3 separate regions of the Homo sapiens genome follow, and regions 1 and 2 are each linked to region 3. The links are contacts of gene promoters, found by promoter capture Hi-C in blood cells and fetal thymus (Javierre and others, 2016). All regions are on one chromosome and are shown on one strand. Each heading gives the region's core, a stretch centred on a gene start or on the middle of the fragment in contact. The rest is flanking DNA. Distances are from core to core; before and after follow the strand shown. Region 1 overlaps TRD-AS1 (TRD antisense RNA 1). Region 2 overlaps TRD-AS1 (TRD antisense RNA 1). Region 3 holds the start of AJUBA (ajuba LIM protein).

The links. Contacts are between HindIII fragments. The CHiCAGO score rates a contact against its expected background, and 5 or more counts as called.
Region 1: a fragment that was not itself captured here is called in contact with the fragment with the promoter of AJUBA in region 3 in 1 of 17 cell types (naive B cells); the score reaches 6.3 in naive B cells.
Region 2: a fragment that was not itself captured here is called in contact with the fragment with the promoter of AJUBA in region 3 in 2 of 17 cell types (total B cells and naive B cells); the score reaches 5.4 in total B cells.

The regions. Positions count from the first base shown.
Region 1 is chr14:22,395,579-22,398,278 of GRCh38, forward strand. The region is part of intron 2 of TRD-AS1 (TRD antisense RNA 1); the gene reads right to left. It also overlaps TRA. Among named protein-coding and RNA genes, the nearest start is that of TRD-AS1, 86 kb to the right of the region's middle. The HindIII fragment of the contact is 3,589 bases long and covers 1-2,700 here.
Region 2 is chr14:22,378,865-22,381,564 of GRCh38, forward strand. It overlaps TRD-AS1 (TRD antisense RNA 1), which reads right to left. Exons shown (of 5, transcript NR_148361.1): 5 at 541-2,700. It also overlaps TRA. Among named protein-coding and RNA genes, the nearest start is that of TRD-AS1, 100 kb to the right of the region's middle. The HindIII fragment of the contact is 4,926 bases long and covers 1-2,700 here.
Region 3 is chr14:22,981,184-22,983,883 of GRCh38, forward strand. AJUBA (ajuba LIM protein) reads right to left here and starts at 1,368. Exons shown (of 8, transcript NM_032876.6): 1 at 78-1,368. The coding sequence starts at 1,083. RefSeq lists enhancers at 417-1,382, 1,383-2,348. The HindIII fragment of the contact is 4,726 bases long and covers 1-2,044 here.

The DNA of each region.
Region 1 (2,700 bases), core at 87-2,586, 590 kb before region 3:
GCCAGGTACCAATAGAGGAGATTTGGGGGCAGTGGTCTTCTCGGGACCCTCAAAAATCATTACATAGTTGCCCACTCCTCTTATTTATAAAGCTGTTCGTGTGAATAAGCACCCAACTACTTTGTCTGTGCCCATTTGATCACTGATTGAATAAGAAATAAAAGCCAAACATCTATATTCTTTTTCTTCTCTGAATAATCTTTTCCCCTGTCTTCAGATTTGGAACAAGGAAACCCAGATCCAGGGAAAATATTCTAAATCCTTGACCTCCCTATCCAGTTGGCACCCCAGCCCAGTAAAATGGCTTCAAGTACAACATTCCCCCAACAGCAAAGACAGCCTTCCTGGGAGTCTTGGGTAGGCCTGTCCAGGGCCACCGTGCAGCACACATACATCTTCCCAACCAGCTCCACTGTCACAAACACCATCCACACTGCCATGGGCAAGCCTCTGGCCACCAATGCCACCCCACCTGCTCTGGTGTGGGCACACCTACAGCCATGCCACCAACACTCCTCGTGCACATGTCTATGGTGTATCTGTGCAGTCACAGTTGTCACCAGCTCAATTCTGTGTAACCCTAAGTCCAGGCATCTTGGGGTGAATGTCTCCTTATTCCTTTGTCCATTGTCCTGCTCTCCCTTTAAAATTGTTCATGAGTGTATTTTGCAGAAAGATATGTGATCTTGAAAGACAGAGAAGGAAAGAGATGAAGTAGGAGAGTGGCAGGGGTGGGGGTACAGATTTTGAGAAAGGCAAGAAAAAAGAAAGGATCCTTGACCTCCATCAGTCCCAACTCCCAAAATAAGACTGGCCCTAAAGATAGCTTATTATTTATCCCAAATTAAAATTTTATGGCTCTGCAATCATTGTGTACACAGTGAAAAGAAAACCATCACACAAAAGATGCAGTTATCCTCACAGTGGGAACAATAGCAGCCAAGCTGATTCTGCTCCAAGAATAGAATAACAGTGCTAAGTCAGGAACTCCAAAACTTTGTCAACAAATAGAATAATTTCTTGGTGGGAAAATGGCTATGAAAGAAGGTGGGCAGGAAAGCAACCTTCTGACTCTTGAACTTGGCATGGGTTGCCAGGGAAAATTCCAGCCTTGGTCCCTCCATAGTGAGCTCACAACCAGCTCTGCTGACTGGGGAAAAGTCCTGCCTGAATATGCACAGACTCCAGAAGGCCCTCACCTTACCCTTGCCCAGAATCATATACAGAATCTAACAGGCTGTACCTGCTTCTCTTGCCTAAAGTTATGCATCATTACCAGATTTCCAGCTCCATGATGGCAGAAATTTCAGCTGATTTTTTTTTCCATTGTATCCTCAGCATTCAGCAGAAGGTTTGTATATACTTGGCACTCAATAAACACTTGCTGAATGAACGGTTGATTGATTAATCAATTAATTGATTAATTTAAAATGAGCAAAATACTTTCTCCCTGTCTGGCTTCTGAAGAGTGAGTCTGAGTACTAGAAACTGTCAGATAGGCAATAGAAGCCACAGTCCACTTGGAAAAATGACTGTTTCTACCTTTGCTCATCCTTCTGGGCATCTTAGATTCCTGAAATTCAGGAACAAGGACCCAAGAGATCATGACCCACCAAGTGTCTTTCAACAAAAGACTATTTTCCTGGCTGTTTCCTTTCAGAGAATAAGCCTCCTGGGGCTGATAAGCGAATGGCACCATATGCTGAAAACACAGGCCCTGAGTGGCAGAGGGCACCAGAGCCTCCTCTGAGGAGCCTGTTGGATTGCAGCCTTTCAACAAATCTGAGTGTGTCTTTTGATAGCATCAGCATCAACCACCCCCAAGGACCTCTTTCTTTTATTGCTTCAGCAATGAAGCAGCCACATGGCTGTTGTAGATAAGGTGGCCCAAGTGCATTGTGCATGCAATGTAGGCTGCTGGTGCACAGCACTGAGAATCGCAGACACGCCGTGTACCAGCTTCTCTACACTGCGTTGCCCTTCCTCTGTAAGTGGCCCCCAGGTAAACGGGTGTGATTCCCCACCACTTCTCATTTCTCATTTTCTATCATTTTTTTCTTTGCCAGATGGCTCCTGCAAGACTGAAATCACACAGCCTTCCAACATGGCCACAATGATTGGGACAGATGTCAAGTTCCAACGCTAATATAACATTCCTGATGGGAATTATGATTCTTTGTGCTGGCATCTGCAAAGAGCTAACCAAAGGTTTACCTATATCTGCTATCCTTTCAAGGCACCCTGGAATCAGAGCACTGCTAGTTGTCTGTGGACAGAAAATTGTTCTCCAGAACCCGAATCCTTAAGCATGTGCAGCCAAGAGACTGAGCCATTTACTGCTGTGCACTGTGGGCACCATGATGCATGCTGGATATCACACTGAACAAACACTGTAAGCCTCAAGCAGCCTCAACACAGAAAATTCAAAAGATCCACCAACAACACACAGGGTGTTTAGTGTCATCTTAAACTTGCATCTTGAATGCATCATCGATTCATTCATTCCAAACTAAAAGTCCCTTAAGGCTTTCAAATTGATGTACTGAGTATTGTGAAGGATACCAACATATATAACAAACACTTCTCAAATAATAAAATGTATTCAGCAGGTACAATCTCCTCACTTTTATGTTGCTAAACCATGAGAAATTAAAATTAAATCCTGTATAATTACTTGAATCTTCCAGCTGACAAATAAAA
Region 2 (2,700 bases), core at 191-2,690, 600 kb before region 3:
CTATAATTCATATCAAGTTAACAACTATTTTTAAACAATCACAATCTAATGCTGATGAAATTCGGCATATTAAGAGCAATTACATTTTTACTGCTATGATTGCAAATTGATACAGTATAACAGTAGATTATTTGGCATTAGGTATCAACAGCTTTTAAAATAGTCATCCTCTTGACCCAAATATTGGAAATCTATCATTAAAAGGGTCTTCTGAGCAGATTTTATATAAGCAAAATGTTCATTAAATATTTTTCATACTTTCACGTAATTTGAAATAACATAACTATCCAACACTAGAGAAACAGTTAAGCAAATTGAGCAACATCTACCCAGTAGAATACTATGCCACCATTAAAAATTAGATTTTCAAGAGTTTTAAATTACATGGGGGAAAATAAAGTTAACAGAAAATTGAATGTACAAAACGGCCTCAACAATGTCAGAAAATATACTTAAGACCAAAGACTAAAAGGAAATATGCCAAAATGATGTAGTTATTGTCTCTGGGTAGTGAGATAATAGATTATTTCCTTCTTCCTCTTCTTTTTATAATTGTATGTAAACCACAATTTCTTCTTCAATGAAAACATATTTTTATAATGAGAAAAAATGATCTAATAACAGTATCTTTTAAATACAAGGTTATGTGCCCTGAAAACATTCCTAGTTTCCCTTAAAGTCATTTGTCTAACATAAGTGAATTTGTCTGAATCTCTCTAGAATACACATTCATATGCTCTACCCCAGGAGCAAGGAGTTCCTAAAATCTACTCCCTACTATGTAAAATAAAACTGCCTTTAATTTTTTCCTGAATTTGTTTCAGACTTCAAGTAGAGTTCTTTATTATTTCTGTTCAACAGCACAAACTACAAACATAATCTGTTTGGCAAACCATTTTTATTCAAAAGTATAATAATGCCTTGTTTTTCATCCTTCCAGAGGACCTAGTGGAAGAAAATGCCTAACATCAGGGAACAGTAGGAGCAGCCTAAATTGACCACAGAATTGTATTTGGCCACTGTCCTCAAAAAATTCAAGTGGATTCAGTAATCCTGAATACTTATGTACAACAAGCATTCCTACTATAATAGATCATGAGGATTAAAATGAGGTGAGTTCATTGGTGAGCATGACATGTAGCCATAGCAATTAATCTTAGGTTCCTTCTCCCTTAAAAATGGCTAATAAAACAGAAGAAATGCTGTATGAATAATTTCAGAATAACATGGAATAATTGTAGATATTTCTATAAGATTTGTACCAGATCCACTAGAACAAATCTACCAGTAGCTAAACACTGTAGAGTCTCTAAAAATGGACAAGGAGGAGATGTGACAAAGATACTCTTTAGGGGAATAAAGTCATCCTAAAAACTGAAGATATTTTCTGCTCTGCCAATCAAGGAATCACTGTTCTTTCCCCAGCAAGAAGGAGAGTGAAAAGAGGACCAAATTGGAGGCCCCAAATTTGCATTTTAATCATAACCTTTCATAGCTAATTATGAGATTTGAGCATTCTCTGGATCTCAGTTTGCCACCCATAAAATGATGGGTGGACTGAAAGATTTCTAAGTTTTCCAGTTCTGACATTGCATGGGTCTATAAGGAGCTCCATCTTGGTTGGCCCCTGAAGGCACCTGGAGACTTTGGTTTTAGGGAACCAAGGAGTCTCAGTGCTGAATGAGGATATAGTTCCCCGGTGTAGAATTTTAGAAACTATGCAAGCACTTGGATCTTTAAAAAAAAAATAGTTGGTCCCTGGGCTGTCTCTTACAACTTTAATATTTACACTATGACAAAGTGAAAGTGCTCATTCGTGTTCGAGCCAAAGTAATACCATTCTCTTTATTCATTCCAATGAGCTAATTTTACATGAGCAAGAAAGCACTGGAGAGGTACAGACCCATGGGATATTTGCCTAGCCTAAGTGAGTCTCAGATGGAAATAAATATGAAAAGCGTTAGCATGGGACCTGTGAGAAATTGATTCTTACATCTGGCCTCCAAAGGGTCAAGCCACAAATAAGTGACCTTTGACATGCCCCTTCTCTAGTTCAGCCTGGAGCTGCCCACATTTCCCAGTGGTGCCCAGTCAACTCATTCTCCTGATGCAGGATCATCAGAGAGAATCTGGAGTAATGGCAGCTGCGGGTAAGGGGCTGCCAAATAATAGTGGAACAAAGATCTCTTCCAAGTTTCTATTTCCTCCGAATAGCTCAAATACTTCAACAGTCCAGGTCCCCCTAAAGACTGCATTTTCTTAGCTGCATTCTCTCTAGTTGTGATGAGTGTCTCAAAAAGGAACACCTCTCCTCCTGAGTTTATGATAGTTTATGACCTGCCACTTCATTTCCAGCAGTGTGTCCCAGTTCCTCTTGCAATCCACAAAGGACACTTTTTCTTTCAGTAGCCTGGTGTGAGCTCTTGCCTCTCAGGATTAGCTGTGATCTTACTGCTGGGGTGGGAGCACACTTAGCCACAGGGCCCAAAAGAACTACTGTCACTGAAAAGAGCACTTTCCTGTATTTGAGGGCTCTTCCTCTCTTCTGGTACACCCGGGGAAAAACCTGGCAGAGTCCACCCACAGTCTTTGAGGATTAATTCTGTAAGAACTTCTTACACTGAAGGGAATCCTCCTCCAGGGGATGATTCTGCTCTGTGCTTCTGAGCTCTGATGGCAATCACATCAACATCGCCAGGG
Region 3 (2,700 bases), core at 118-2,617:
CTTTGGGCCGTCGGGGCAGTGGAGAACCGAATACCGTGACGGGTCCCTTCCCGTCCCTAACCACTTCTCTCACTCACCGAAGTAGTCCTCCCTGGCCTCTGGCTCCCGCATCCGGGCCCGGGCGGCCTCCGGAACGAAAGGACCTGGTGGCTCCTCCAGACCCGACGGCTCAATCCCCGAGGGTTCTCCGCGGGCTCCGGCTTCTCGCCCACCGGTGCCCACCGTCAGGCGAAGCAAAGCTGTTAGCTCGTCCTGGTACCGGGCGCCCACGGCGCAGTCCCCGTAGCCGGTCACAGAGTGTCGTCCGGGTTGCGCCCCCCGTCTCTCCAAGGGCCCCGCCGCTCCCACTCCGGCCCCGGCTAGAGCTCCAGGGCTGCCCAGGGCCGGGGGATACGAGTGGCGGCTTTCCTGGCAGCCGAACCCCGCGGGCCGCTGAGCGTACAATCGGTCCAGGGCGGCGTGGAGCTCCGGGTAGGCGGACGGGACCCCTCCGGGAGAATAGCCTGCCGGTGCTCCGGCCAGGGGTGGGCCAAACAGGCACGGCCCCGCTGGCAAGGGGCTCCCGTGGCGCTGGTCGTAGCCCATGCTGATGCCGCTGGTGCGATTGCTGCAGGGCCGGCTACCTCCAGCTCCGCCAGCCCCCGCCCCGTCCAGCAGCAGGCTGCCCCGGGGGCTGGACGGCTTGCTCGCGTCGCTGGCCGAGCTACTGGCGAAGCTAGAGCGGGGGCTGAGGGCCGGGGCCGTGGGCTCCAGCCGAAAATCGGGGGGCAACGACTGAGGTAGAGGCAAGGCCCGGGTGGGCGGCGGCCCCGCGGGAAAAGAGCCTTCGTAGCGCGGCGCCTCAAAGGAGCCGCGCTGATTTCGCTCAGCGTCCAGGGAACCTTGCTCCCGGGCCGGCTCCAACGGCTCATCCCCAGGTCCCCCAGTAGCTCCTCGGGGCCCTGACTTCCTAGGTCCCCCCAACCCACTTAGGCGCCCCTTGCCCGGCCCGGGGGTCCCGTCAGACCCAGACCGGCTAGATTCACCCTTTCTGCGGCCGAACTTCTCCAGCAGGCGACTGGCTTTCTCTCCTAACCGCTCCATGCCCTCGGGCCTGGGGCCTCTCGCCCCCTCCCCGCCTGGCACCCTGCGGCGTCTCGGCGGCCGGTTCTCTTTCCCTGCAGCCGGACTCTGGTTCCCCAGGGGCACAGGGGAGGCACAGGGGCTTAGCGGGCGGCCTGGATGCCCTGCGCCAGGAATCCCACAGCATCCCCCAGCGGGAGGGGCTGCGTCCCCCCGCGCATCTGGGGCTGAGCGGGGCTAGCAGGGTCTCTGGCCGCGGCTGTCCAGTCCGCAGGTCTATCTGTTCACGCGTCGACTCGCCCGACTGCCCCACTCTCCCCGGCCCCCGCCCCCCTAGCTCTCACGCTAGCCACAGACCGAACTTCTCTCCCAAACTTTTGTCTGCCTGGCCGGATCTACTTTCCTAGGGGGGCGGAGCGCGGTGTGTGCGAGAGCGCCGGGGGTGTCCGCGCAGGGATAGCTGGTGTGCGTGCAGCGGAAGGCGCTAACTGCCCTGGATGTGGAGACCCGCGGACTGGACGTGAGAGGCGGGCAGGGGCAGTTGGGGCAGCTGCCCCTACAACACTGAAGAATTGGAATAGGAAAGAGTGTGGGGGTAGGGGACGGGGACTCTTTGTCTGCAGTTGGAATGCGCGGAGGGGCATGGTGGAATGTGTCGCGTCCCGGGACCGGACGACAGGAGGCATGTTCTGCGCTAGCACCGTGACTTTGTTCCCAGCGTGGGGACTGTGGGAGAGATGGAGAGAGACTGGTACAGAAATGGTGAGACAAGGAGAGAGCCATAAAGAGGAAGACAGAGAGAAAGAAGACAAATGCATAAAGAGGTTCAGAGACGTGTACGTAAAGATAGCCCTGAAAGGCGACGAAGCCCACAGAGAGAGGTGGAAGAGGGAAGAGGTAGCGAAAGAAAGGGAGAGCTGAGGAGCAAAGAGGAGTGTGGACGATGCAGAGACCGAAGGGTGCGCAGACAAAGGAAAGGACAAGCTTGTCCAGAGAGAATGAGAGACAAACAGATAAACTGCAATAAAAAGGCACCACCTTCTGGACCCAAAAGTTTTGTGATTTGTAAAAGCAGTGAAAAGGAGTCAGGAAAATGGGACTAATCTCTACTTTGAGAGGGAGGGAAAGAGATATAGTGTGTATGTAGAAGCAGTGAAAAGGAGTGAGGAAAAGGTTTGGGACTAATCTCTACCTTAAGGGTAGGACAGTTAGAGGGATAGACACCCCCTGGTGTTGGGAAATGAGATTTTTCTCATTTCAGGTGACTGTGGAGATCGAAGGCCTGGTTTTAGGGCTAGCGAACACCTTCTCCCTTTGGTTTTGGTCCACAGAAGACTGGTGATACAGAGTAAGTATTAAGAGGAAGAAAAGAAATGCCGTGTAGAGGAAATTGCAAATGAAAATGATCAGGATGGAAAAGAGGCTGATATTGACTATTTTAAAAGGATCAAGAATAAGGAAAAGAAACCCTGGCTGAAGCAGCCGGGCGCGGTGGCTCACGCCTGTAATCCCACCACTTTGGGAGGCTGAGGCGGGCGGATCACTTGAAGTCAAGAGTTCAGACCAGCCTGGCCAACATGGTGAAGCCCTATCTCTACTAAAAATACAAAAATTAGCCAGGCGTGGTGGCGCACGCCT